Linked DNA regions of Homo sapiens: region 1 is linked to region 2. Evidence: promoter capture Hi-C in human tissues and cell types (Jung and others, 2019). All regions are on one chromosome and are shown on one strand. The core of a region is centred on a gene start or on the middle of the fragment in contact, and the rest is flanking DNA. Distances in the headings are between cores, read along the strand shown.

Region 1 (4,291 bases), core at 209-2,708, 280 kb before region 2:
TTCCTGCCTTTGTGGACCAAACCAATGTATTTCTTAAATGTATTTGATATCTCATGCCTCCCTAAAAGAATAAAACCAAGCTGCACCCTGACCACCTTGGGTACATGTTCTTAAGACCTCCTGAAGGCTGTGTCATGGGCCATGGTCACTCATATTTGGCCCAGAATAAATCTCTTCAAGTATTGTACAGAGTTTGGCTCTTTTTGTTGGCAGCATGTATTAACTCATTCTCTATTACAATTCCCCTGTCTTGATGAATGGGCTCTGTTGAGGCAGGGGGCAAGGTGAATCTCTTGGGTGGTTACAGTGAAAATCCATACAAAATTTTACATGCATATGTGCTGGAGGCCCACAATATATGAGACTAAAATAAGGACTGAATGAGTAAAGCTTAAATAGCATTGTAAGCTAAAAAGTAGGGAGTGGCTTCTGATAGGGAGTTTCTGACACAAGTTATGGGAAGGTGAAGGGAGAAAACACATGATGAACAAAGGTTATTTTATTGTGGAGATAAAGTCTCTCAGGTAGCAGTGCTCCAAAGAATAAGTATTATCAAACTTTTTCTCTTTTCCTGTGAATTAGTTTTCTGATTGATGAGATTATTTGGAGAGGCTCAAGACAATTGCATTCTTTTTGGAAGATCTTCCCTTAGTCAGATAAGAGAACTTCAGAGCAACCCTGCACTTCAGGAGGGAAAGAATGGGGGATGGGTAGACAGAAGAGGGTCAGAGATTCTGAAGACATTTGTGAAGTCTTTCAGTCTTCTTTAGTTCAAACTACTCAGTATGACAAAGTTTTATTTTTTTTTTTGAGACGGAGTCTTGCTCTGTCACCCAGGCTGGAATGCAGTGGTGCAATCTCCGCTCACTGAAACCTCTGCCTCCTGGGTTCAAGCGATTCTCCTGCCTCAGCCTCCCAAGTAGCTGGGATTACAGGTGTGTGCCACCATGCCTGACTAATTTTTGTATTTTTAGTAGAGAAGGGGTTTCACCATGTTGGTCTGGCTGGTCTTGAACTCCTGACCTTGTGATTGGCCTGCCTCCACCTCCCAAGTGCTGAGATTACAGGTGTGAGCCACCGCACCCAGACTAAATTTTACATTTTCAAATGTTGTATTAGGAGTCCTAACATATTAATAATATTTTATGTGTTCACAGTATTTGGCACTTAGGTAACTTCCCCTCCGTTATCTCTTTTATCTTCAAAACAAATAAGAAAAAGATGGGCCCAATTAGCACTTCAGGTCTTAGAGTTAAGAGCAAACATGCCTGCATAGTTACTCACATATAGAGGAGTACCAGGCTGGTAGCCACAAGAACCCATGTTTCCATGGCAAAGTTTGGAATGAGATCCATCACCAGTTTTCTTTTTCAGCTCTGTCTTCTGAGTTTTTCTTTCAGCTGTGTGCTGCTCTTTGCTGGGCTGTGCATATAGAGCTTTGTTTCTCTGCCCAGAGGTGATTTAGTTAATGTTAACAGCGATATTTATGTGCTGGAGAAGGAGGTGGGTCTACAGCGGCAGCCAGTAGAAAAGCCACTTATGCTACTCCTCATATGGAGGGATTTGGGTACCCTTTTCAAATTGACAATTGGCAAATAATTATGGCTGTCCTTATTTTGGCCTCCTTTGATTTCCTATTCTGTGAACAATCAGTAAACAAATCAGTCACTGCTATTGGTAAGCCCAAAGGTTATAGATTCTCAGGAACCTAAAGAAAAATACTTCTGCAAGAACATCTGCCCAGCAACTGCCTGTCCAACCTCAAACTGATGTCAGTCTTGTTATTGATCTTTATAGCCAAGGATAATCATTCCAAAACAAATATGTAATCCTTCTCATTATTTTTTTAAACTTTGTCTTACTTTACCTACCTGAATAAGCACATAGTTTACCTTGGCACGCATATTCCCATTGCAATGCTTTATTCCCAAATAAAAATAATTCTTTTTAGAAAGCCTATCTCTGTTTGTTATCTAGGTTGCCAAATCATGCCTCCAGGTAAACAGACAAGAAGGACTCCCTGTGCCTCAAAAGCAAAAACAAACCCAAGAGGCCATGGCAGGTTTAGGTGATGGTCATGTTCTCTGTGTTCTTAGTAAGTGTTGCAAAACCTATTTTTCTGTAGCCAAGTCAAATAACATTTTCTGAAAAAATCTGTACCTGGGAATTTTCCAACTGCTCACCAACAGATCATGTGGTAAGAACTAACTGACCACCTAGGAACAGCCAATTAAGAGACATGTGACTTGGGGCTTAAAGGCTGTCTAATCAAGACTCTTTTCTTCACTCCTCTGACTCCTCTATCCTGCTCTGTGGTTTTTGACTTTATAGCTCTCCACCTCCGAGGCTGCATCTCCTCAATCTGCAGACTGTGTTTTATAGAAAATGAAGCTCTCCCTCTGTCCTCCACAGATCCCACAATCTTTACTCATATTTCCTGGTGATGAGGAAGGGATCAAAATTGGCTCTCAAGATCCTCTCCCTTGTCATCTGGACTAATCAATGCATTGGCACCAGCAAGAGTCCTCTAAGCTCAGTTATCTTCCTGGCCTGGCTGTTTTGTGGAAAAATCAGTAAATCCTCTTACATCCAAGATCTCACATTTAGGATGAGGTCTTGAGGTCTTTATTTTTTTCAGGGAACCTGCCCTTCTGGCTCTATGGCTACCCACTTGTGGGGTATGCTTGCACTTGGAGGGGCATGCCCATGTTTCTTGGGGTGCATTCATGCTGCATCAAGCAAGTTCATGCCTCACAGGATACTCCATGCTTCAGTGTTGCAAGGACTATCGCATTTTATTTGCCCTTGAAGGGACCCCTTCCTAAGGTGAGGGCTATGCATAACCTAGGTCCTAAGGCCATGGTCTCTAAGGCCTGCCATCGGGTAATTCGGTGGCTCTGTCTCTGATCAATCACTATCAGGTACTCTGGCAGTTTTTCAAGTTTAAAATTTAAAGGTAAAGGCTCGACAGAAATGGATGTGAGAGATACACCTAAATTGAACTCCGAAGCATGCAATGAGGATAAGAGGAGTCTGGACTTCTCAAAGACAGTAAGAGGCTTTCTTTCAATCTGCATTTTTGAAAGTTTCAAACACAATTGGGACTTTGGCTGTGTTTTACTAGGAGACTAACCTGAAGAGTTAACCCATGTCTCAGAAAATCTGAAAAACTTGAAGACCCTAAAATGGAGAGTCCCATATCTTCCTGCTGCTGCACTTGCATTCTACCTCCACTTTTCCCTTTTTACCATCACTGTCTTTGTCTGGAACATTGCAGGGACCTGGCAACTTGGTACCAGCAGGGGCCATTGAGCCCCTGGCTCCTTCATGATGATTGAAAACTGGGTGGGTCTCTCATGAGTTTTGGACTTCCCACTTGATTGACAGCTGTCAGTTTTGTTCAGCTAGTTGTTCTTACCCCTGGATAAAAGGGGGTGAAAGAAAGTCTCTTTCTTTGAGACTTACTGTTTCTCAAGAAGGGGGAATCACTCTGTATTTCTCCTCCATAAACATATGAATGAATATGTATGCTATTTCTCCCATTAATCTCCTTTGTGGGTGATTTTTTTTGTTGTTAACAAACCTTCAGAGGAGAAAGGACAAACATTTTTCTTGGCCTCAGCAGTTCTGTCCCTATGAGCAGGATACCAAAGCCACTCTGTTCTTTCAGAAGCCTCAGTGAAGGGAGCCCAAGCACTTGTAAGTCAGCAGAAAAGTAAGAATTTCTTTTTTTTTCTTTTTCTTTTTTTGACAGAGTCTCATTTTATTACCCAGGCTGGAATGTAGTGGTGTGATCTTGGCTCACTGCAATCTCCGCCTCCTGGGCTCAAGTGATCCTTCTATCTCAGTCTCCCAAGTAGCTGGGACTACAGGCACATGCCTCCATGTCTGGCTGAGAAAAGTAAGAATTTCTTTCCAGACAAGCTCCTGGCCTTTCTTTCTGGGAGATCCACTTGGGCAGATGTTAAGAATTGCTCTTTGTCTCCTCTGCAAAATCTTAATAAATAGGAGAAAAGGATTTGTGTTACTAGTGCTGGGTGCAGCAACTCTAGGGTACTCTCTAGTACTTTCTCTTATGAATACTCACATCGTTTGATCCCCTTTTCCTCTAGAAATAGTCTTTTCCTTTGTTCCTGTATTTCTGTGCTGTTCTGTCATAAAAGGGGCTACAGGAGTGTAGAACATGGGCCTGAAACCCCTATAAGCCCACTTGTTGGAGCTGGCTCTGCGGACTGAGCAGCTGGTGCTTCTGAAGAACACACCTGTTGTTCTACACATGTCCAGCTCTCGG
Region 2 (4,502 bases), core at 942-3,441:
TGAAGAAAAATTATCTCAGTGAGCAATGGTACATTTGGTCACCCATGCCATATTTTGGAGGAGGTAGCCTAAGGTAGGGATATGCATTGACTCCTAGGCAGTGATGAATGGCTTGGCTTGTTGGTTAGGGACCATCTTATTGTTTATGCAATAGGCTTATGAACAGAGACCATGGTAGCAGGGATAGAGGCTGTGCGTGGTCCCAACAATATGGGCTACCTCTTATTTTTCTTTTTTTTTTTTTTTTTTTTTTGAGACGGAGTCTCGCCCTGTTGCCCAGGCTGGAGTGCAGTGGTGTGATCTCAGCTCACTGCAGCCTCCACCTCCCAGGTTCAAGCAATTCTCCTGCCTCAGCCTCCCGAGTAGCTGGGACTACAGGCACACACCACCGTACCCAGGTAATTTCTGTATTTTTAGTTGAGACGGTGTTTCACCATGTTGCTCAGGCTGGTCTCGAACTCCTGAACTTGTGATCCACCCACCTCAGCCTCCCAAAGTGCTGACATTACAGGTGTGAGCCACCGTGCCCGGCCAATATGGTCTACCTCTTACCAAGGCTGATGTAACTCTCACCATGGTGGAGTGTCCAGCCTGCCAGCATTAGAGACCAACACTGAGTCTTAGAGATACCAGCTACCACCAGGTTGAGTGCATCAGATCCCTTTTACCTTGGAATGGGCATCAATTTGTTCTTACCAGAATTGATATATGCTCTAAATGAGCTTGTCTTCCCCAACTACTTTGCCTCCAGCAGCACCACCATCTGAGAGCTTACAGGGTGCCTTATCCATTGACATACCTGAAACTAAGGAACCCACCGATAGCCAAGGAGGTGTGACAGTGAACTCGAAGCTACAAAATTCATGGTGCATACTCATCATCCAGAAGCAGCTAGCCAGATAGGGTTTTGGAATGGCCTGTTGAAGACTGGGCTAAATTGCGATTAAGATGTAATGCCTTGCAAAGTTGGGAGCAGTTCTTCAGAATATGGTATATGCGCTGAAATGCATTGGGCCAAAATGGATATATAGTATTGTGTCTCCAGTAGGACTATGTGCATACAGGAGTAGCCTCTATTACTATCACACCCAGCCACTCACCTGTAGAATTTGTGCCTCCTCGCTCCGAAATCTGGAGCCAGCTGGGTTATGATCCTCATTTCCAGGAAGAACATTTCCTCTAGGAAACATTAAATCGTGCCACTGAACTGAAAACAGAATACCACCAGGCCACTTTGAGTTTCTTGTGCCAGTAGGTCCGTAGGCAAAGAAAGGAGTCGTTATAGAGATGCCTACAATTCCTGCCACACACACAACATAAATACAAAATCATATACCCAGTCAACTGCATTCAGTAATCTGCCTTCCTGGACCCTTTAGGCACTTCAGTGTAGGAATGGGGACGGGTGGGGAGGAGAGACTTTAGACAAAGAAGAAAAATACAGTGTGTAGCAATGTAATGACTCTTAGCGATGACTTGGAACCCTGGAAGGAAATATGAGGATGTATCTGGAGGAATAAGTTGAGACTATGATGTCATCACGGAGGACTGTAGGTTAGAAAGCCAGCCAGTGATAAAGGAGCAAAGATTGGATTTGACGGTGCCCTAGGAGGAAAAAAAAAAAAAAAAAAATATATATATATATATATATATATATATATGTGTGTGTATATATATATATGTGTGTGTATATATATATACATGTATATATATGTGTATATATATGTGTGTGTATATATATGTGTGTATATATATATATGGAGCAAAGATGCACTTAAGTGGATTATTGAGAAGACTCGTGGGTAGGTAGAAAATGGCAACCATAGCAAGATCAAACCCCCTAAGGAATGGAGCATTAGTGAGGGTCTAGAAGGTAATTCGGGATACCACGTAATCATAGGCTCTGTATCAGGTAGCCGTTCCTTTTGTAGGCTTTTATCTTATTGGGCTGTACCACAGACTTGCCCAGAACTTTTAGAGTCATGCCCCAGCCATTCAAGGTCTCAGTTACTGTTTTATAAAAGGTGAAGTTATTCTTGATCTAATCATAGAAGCCCTAATTATTACAATAACACTTGGACAGCAAAAACGCCTCAAATTCAACTTATTTCACCGTTGCTAATCTGAAAACTCCCTGGAAACATAAGGCAAACTCAGAATTTTATAACTATCTAGTGTTGGAAAGAACGTCTGTTGCCTATAGATCAAGTATTTGAAAATACTGCCCATTCAACTGGCAATACGTACATAATCAGCGTCTCAAGAGACAATCCCTTCGATTTGTGAAACCATTTATTCTTGATCTTCCTGTCTCCACCCTCGTTTCATTCAGCTCCTCTGCCACAGACAATCACTATTTTTATTGTAACTATTACAATTATTGTCATCAAGAAAAATAGAAGGAACATATAAATATCTGAGCAGGGCGGTATAAAGGGAAATTCATCCCTTTTTCCCCGCCCTGTGCACCTCCTCGGAGCGGACAAGCTGAGGAGCAAGATCCCCAAACCCGAGATTAGAGCCCTACACAGGGATGCAAAGTCCTCCCGCGATCCTAGAGAGGACCCCGAAGCGGAGCGCAGCTCCGGAAGGCGGGTGTGACGCACTTCCGGCTTTTGTGACGCTTTCCCTGGGCTCTGAAGGCCAGGGGGCTTGGATGTGAGTCTAGTGCTCCTGGTCCCCAAAGTCACAACCCCTTCTATCCCAGCATCCCAGACTTCTCCGGGCGGGGACAGAGTTGGACGTGCATGGCTGTGTCCTGCAATCCCCTCGCCACGACCGCCCGGGACGGAGTGGAAGCGGGTCCGTGCCCCCGTTCCTCGCGCCAGCCTCGGCGGTGGCAAGCGCTGTCCCCCAGCAGAGGTGTCCCTGGATACAGGTGGGAAGGGAACGAAGTTTTGGTTTCCGGATTGGAGACACCCCTGGGACTGGAGAGAGGCGGTCTGCGTGTCCCTTCTGGACCCCCAGTCCTGGTGTTTTACCCCAAAGACGCGCGGACAAAATGACCCCAGTCAGATATCTGTGCTCCCCAGTTGTGCCCACTGGTTTTTCTTGTGGTGGGGGCTTTTCTGGTTTCCTGGGTACCCCGAGTTGTAAAATTCTGGCGATCTTACACGATACCAAGTGCCATTGGCCTTATAATTTGTTTTATTCGGATGGGCTCGTTAAGCCAGTGTCCGCGGATGATATGTTCACCCTCAAACCCAGTACCATTATGGTGGTGATTAGAGTGAAGGCCGGGCGCAGTGGCTCACGCCCATAATCCCAGCACTTTGGGAAGCCTAGGCAGGCGAATCGTTTGAGGCCAGGAGTTCTGAGATCAGCCTTGCCAACCTAGAGAAACCCTGTCTCTACTAGAAATACAGAAAATTAGACGTGGCGGCACACGCCTGTAATCCCAGCTGCTTGGGAGGCTGAGGCAGGGGAATCGCTTGAACCCGGGAGGCGGAGGTTGCAGTGAGCCAGGATCGCGTCACTGCACTCCAGCCTGGGAGACAGAGAGAGAGAGTGAGACTCTGTCTCAAAAACAAAAAAAGAGAATGTTTGAAGCCTACTGAATAAAGAAGTGATTTGGATATAATAGGAAAAGCTCATTTACACTTCACCCTTTCCTTTCAAGACTTTAGGAAGGGGTCTTTTTGTTTCTTTGGTTGGTTTTTTTGTTTTTGAGACAGAGTCGCCCAGGCTGGAGTGCAGTGGTGCGATCTCGGCTCACTGCAACCTCCAGCGCCCGAGTTCAAGCTTCTCCTGCCTCAGCTTCCTGAGTAGCTGGAATTACAGGCGCCTGCCACCATGCCCGGCTAATTTTTGTACTTTTAGTAGAGACGGGGTTTCGCCATGTTGGCCAGGCTGGGAAAATGAACTCCTGACCTCAGGTGATCCGCCCGCCTCGGCCTCCCAAAGTGCTGCAATTACAGGGGTCAGCCACCACGCCCTGCCAGGAAGGGTTTTAAATGAGCAATTTCGGACATGGGGGGTTTTCAGTTGTGGGAGGTATCTATGCTTGACATCGAGGGATAAAGGAGAGAAGGGAATTTGTGGACGGTGCAGCGGACCATTGGGGACTGGTACCAGTTCTGCCATTGATGTTCTTGGATGAAACACATAGACCCACCAAGTCTCAAATGTGTCCTAAGTAAAGTAAAATAGATTATCTCAAGGTCTCTTCCAATTTTGGAATCTGCCGATAGACTGAATTTAACATTCAGCTAAGCAAAACCTATGGCCCCACATTCATTTCCATTTGTGCCACCAACATACAGAAAGTTACTTGCATTATTGAGAGAGGCTAAGTGACACAGTACCAAAGAAAAGGGGTTCGTTGGCCAGGTGCTGTGGCTCAGGCTTGTAATCCCAGCACTTTGGGAGGCCGAGGTGGGTGGATCACGAGGTCAGGAGTTTGAGACTAGCCTGGCCAACACAGTGAAACCCCGTATCTACTAAAAAGACAAAAATTAGCTGGGCCTGGTGTTGGGCGCCTATAATCCCAGCTACTCGGGAGG

Evidence for each region. Contacts are between HindIII fragments. The study calls those that stand out against the background at their distance.
Region 1: a contact is called between the fragment with the promoter of CYP3A43 here and a fragment that was not itself captured in region 2, in 1 of the 25 tissues and cell types used here (small bowel).

The regions. Positions count from the first base shown.
Region 1 is chr7:99,825,180-99,829,470 of GRCh38, reverse strand. CYP3A43 (cytochrome P450 family 3 subfamily A member 43) reads right to left here and starts at 1,458. Exons shown (of 13, transcript NM_057095.3): 1 at 1,285-1,458. The coding sequence starts at 1,355. The HindIII fragment of the contact is 7,263 bases long and covers 1-4,291 here.
Region 2 is chr7:99,550,230-99,554,731 of GRCh38, reverse strand. FAM200A (family with sequence similarity 200 member A) reads left to right here and starts at 2,618. Exons shown (of 2, transcript NM_145111.4): 1 at 2,618-2,878. LOC105375422 (a long non-coding RNA gene) reads right to left here and starts at 2,567. Exons shown (of 3, transcript XR_927801.4): 1 at 2,248-2,567; 2 at 1,101-1,207. RefSeq lists an enhancer at 2,872-3,061. The HindIII fragment of the contact is 6,423 bases long and covers 1-4,502 here.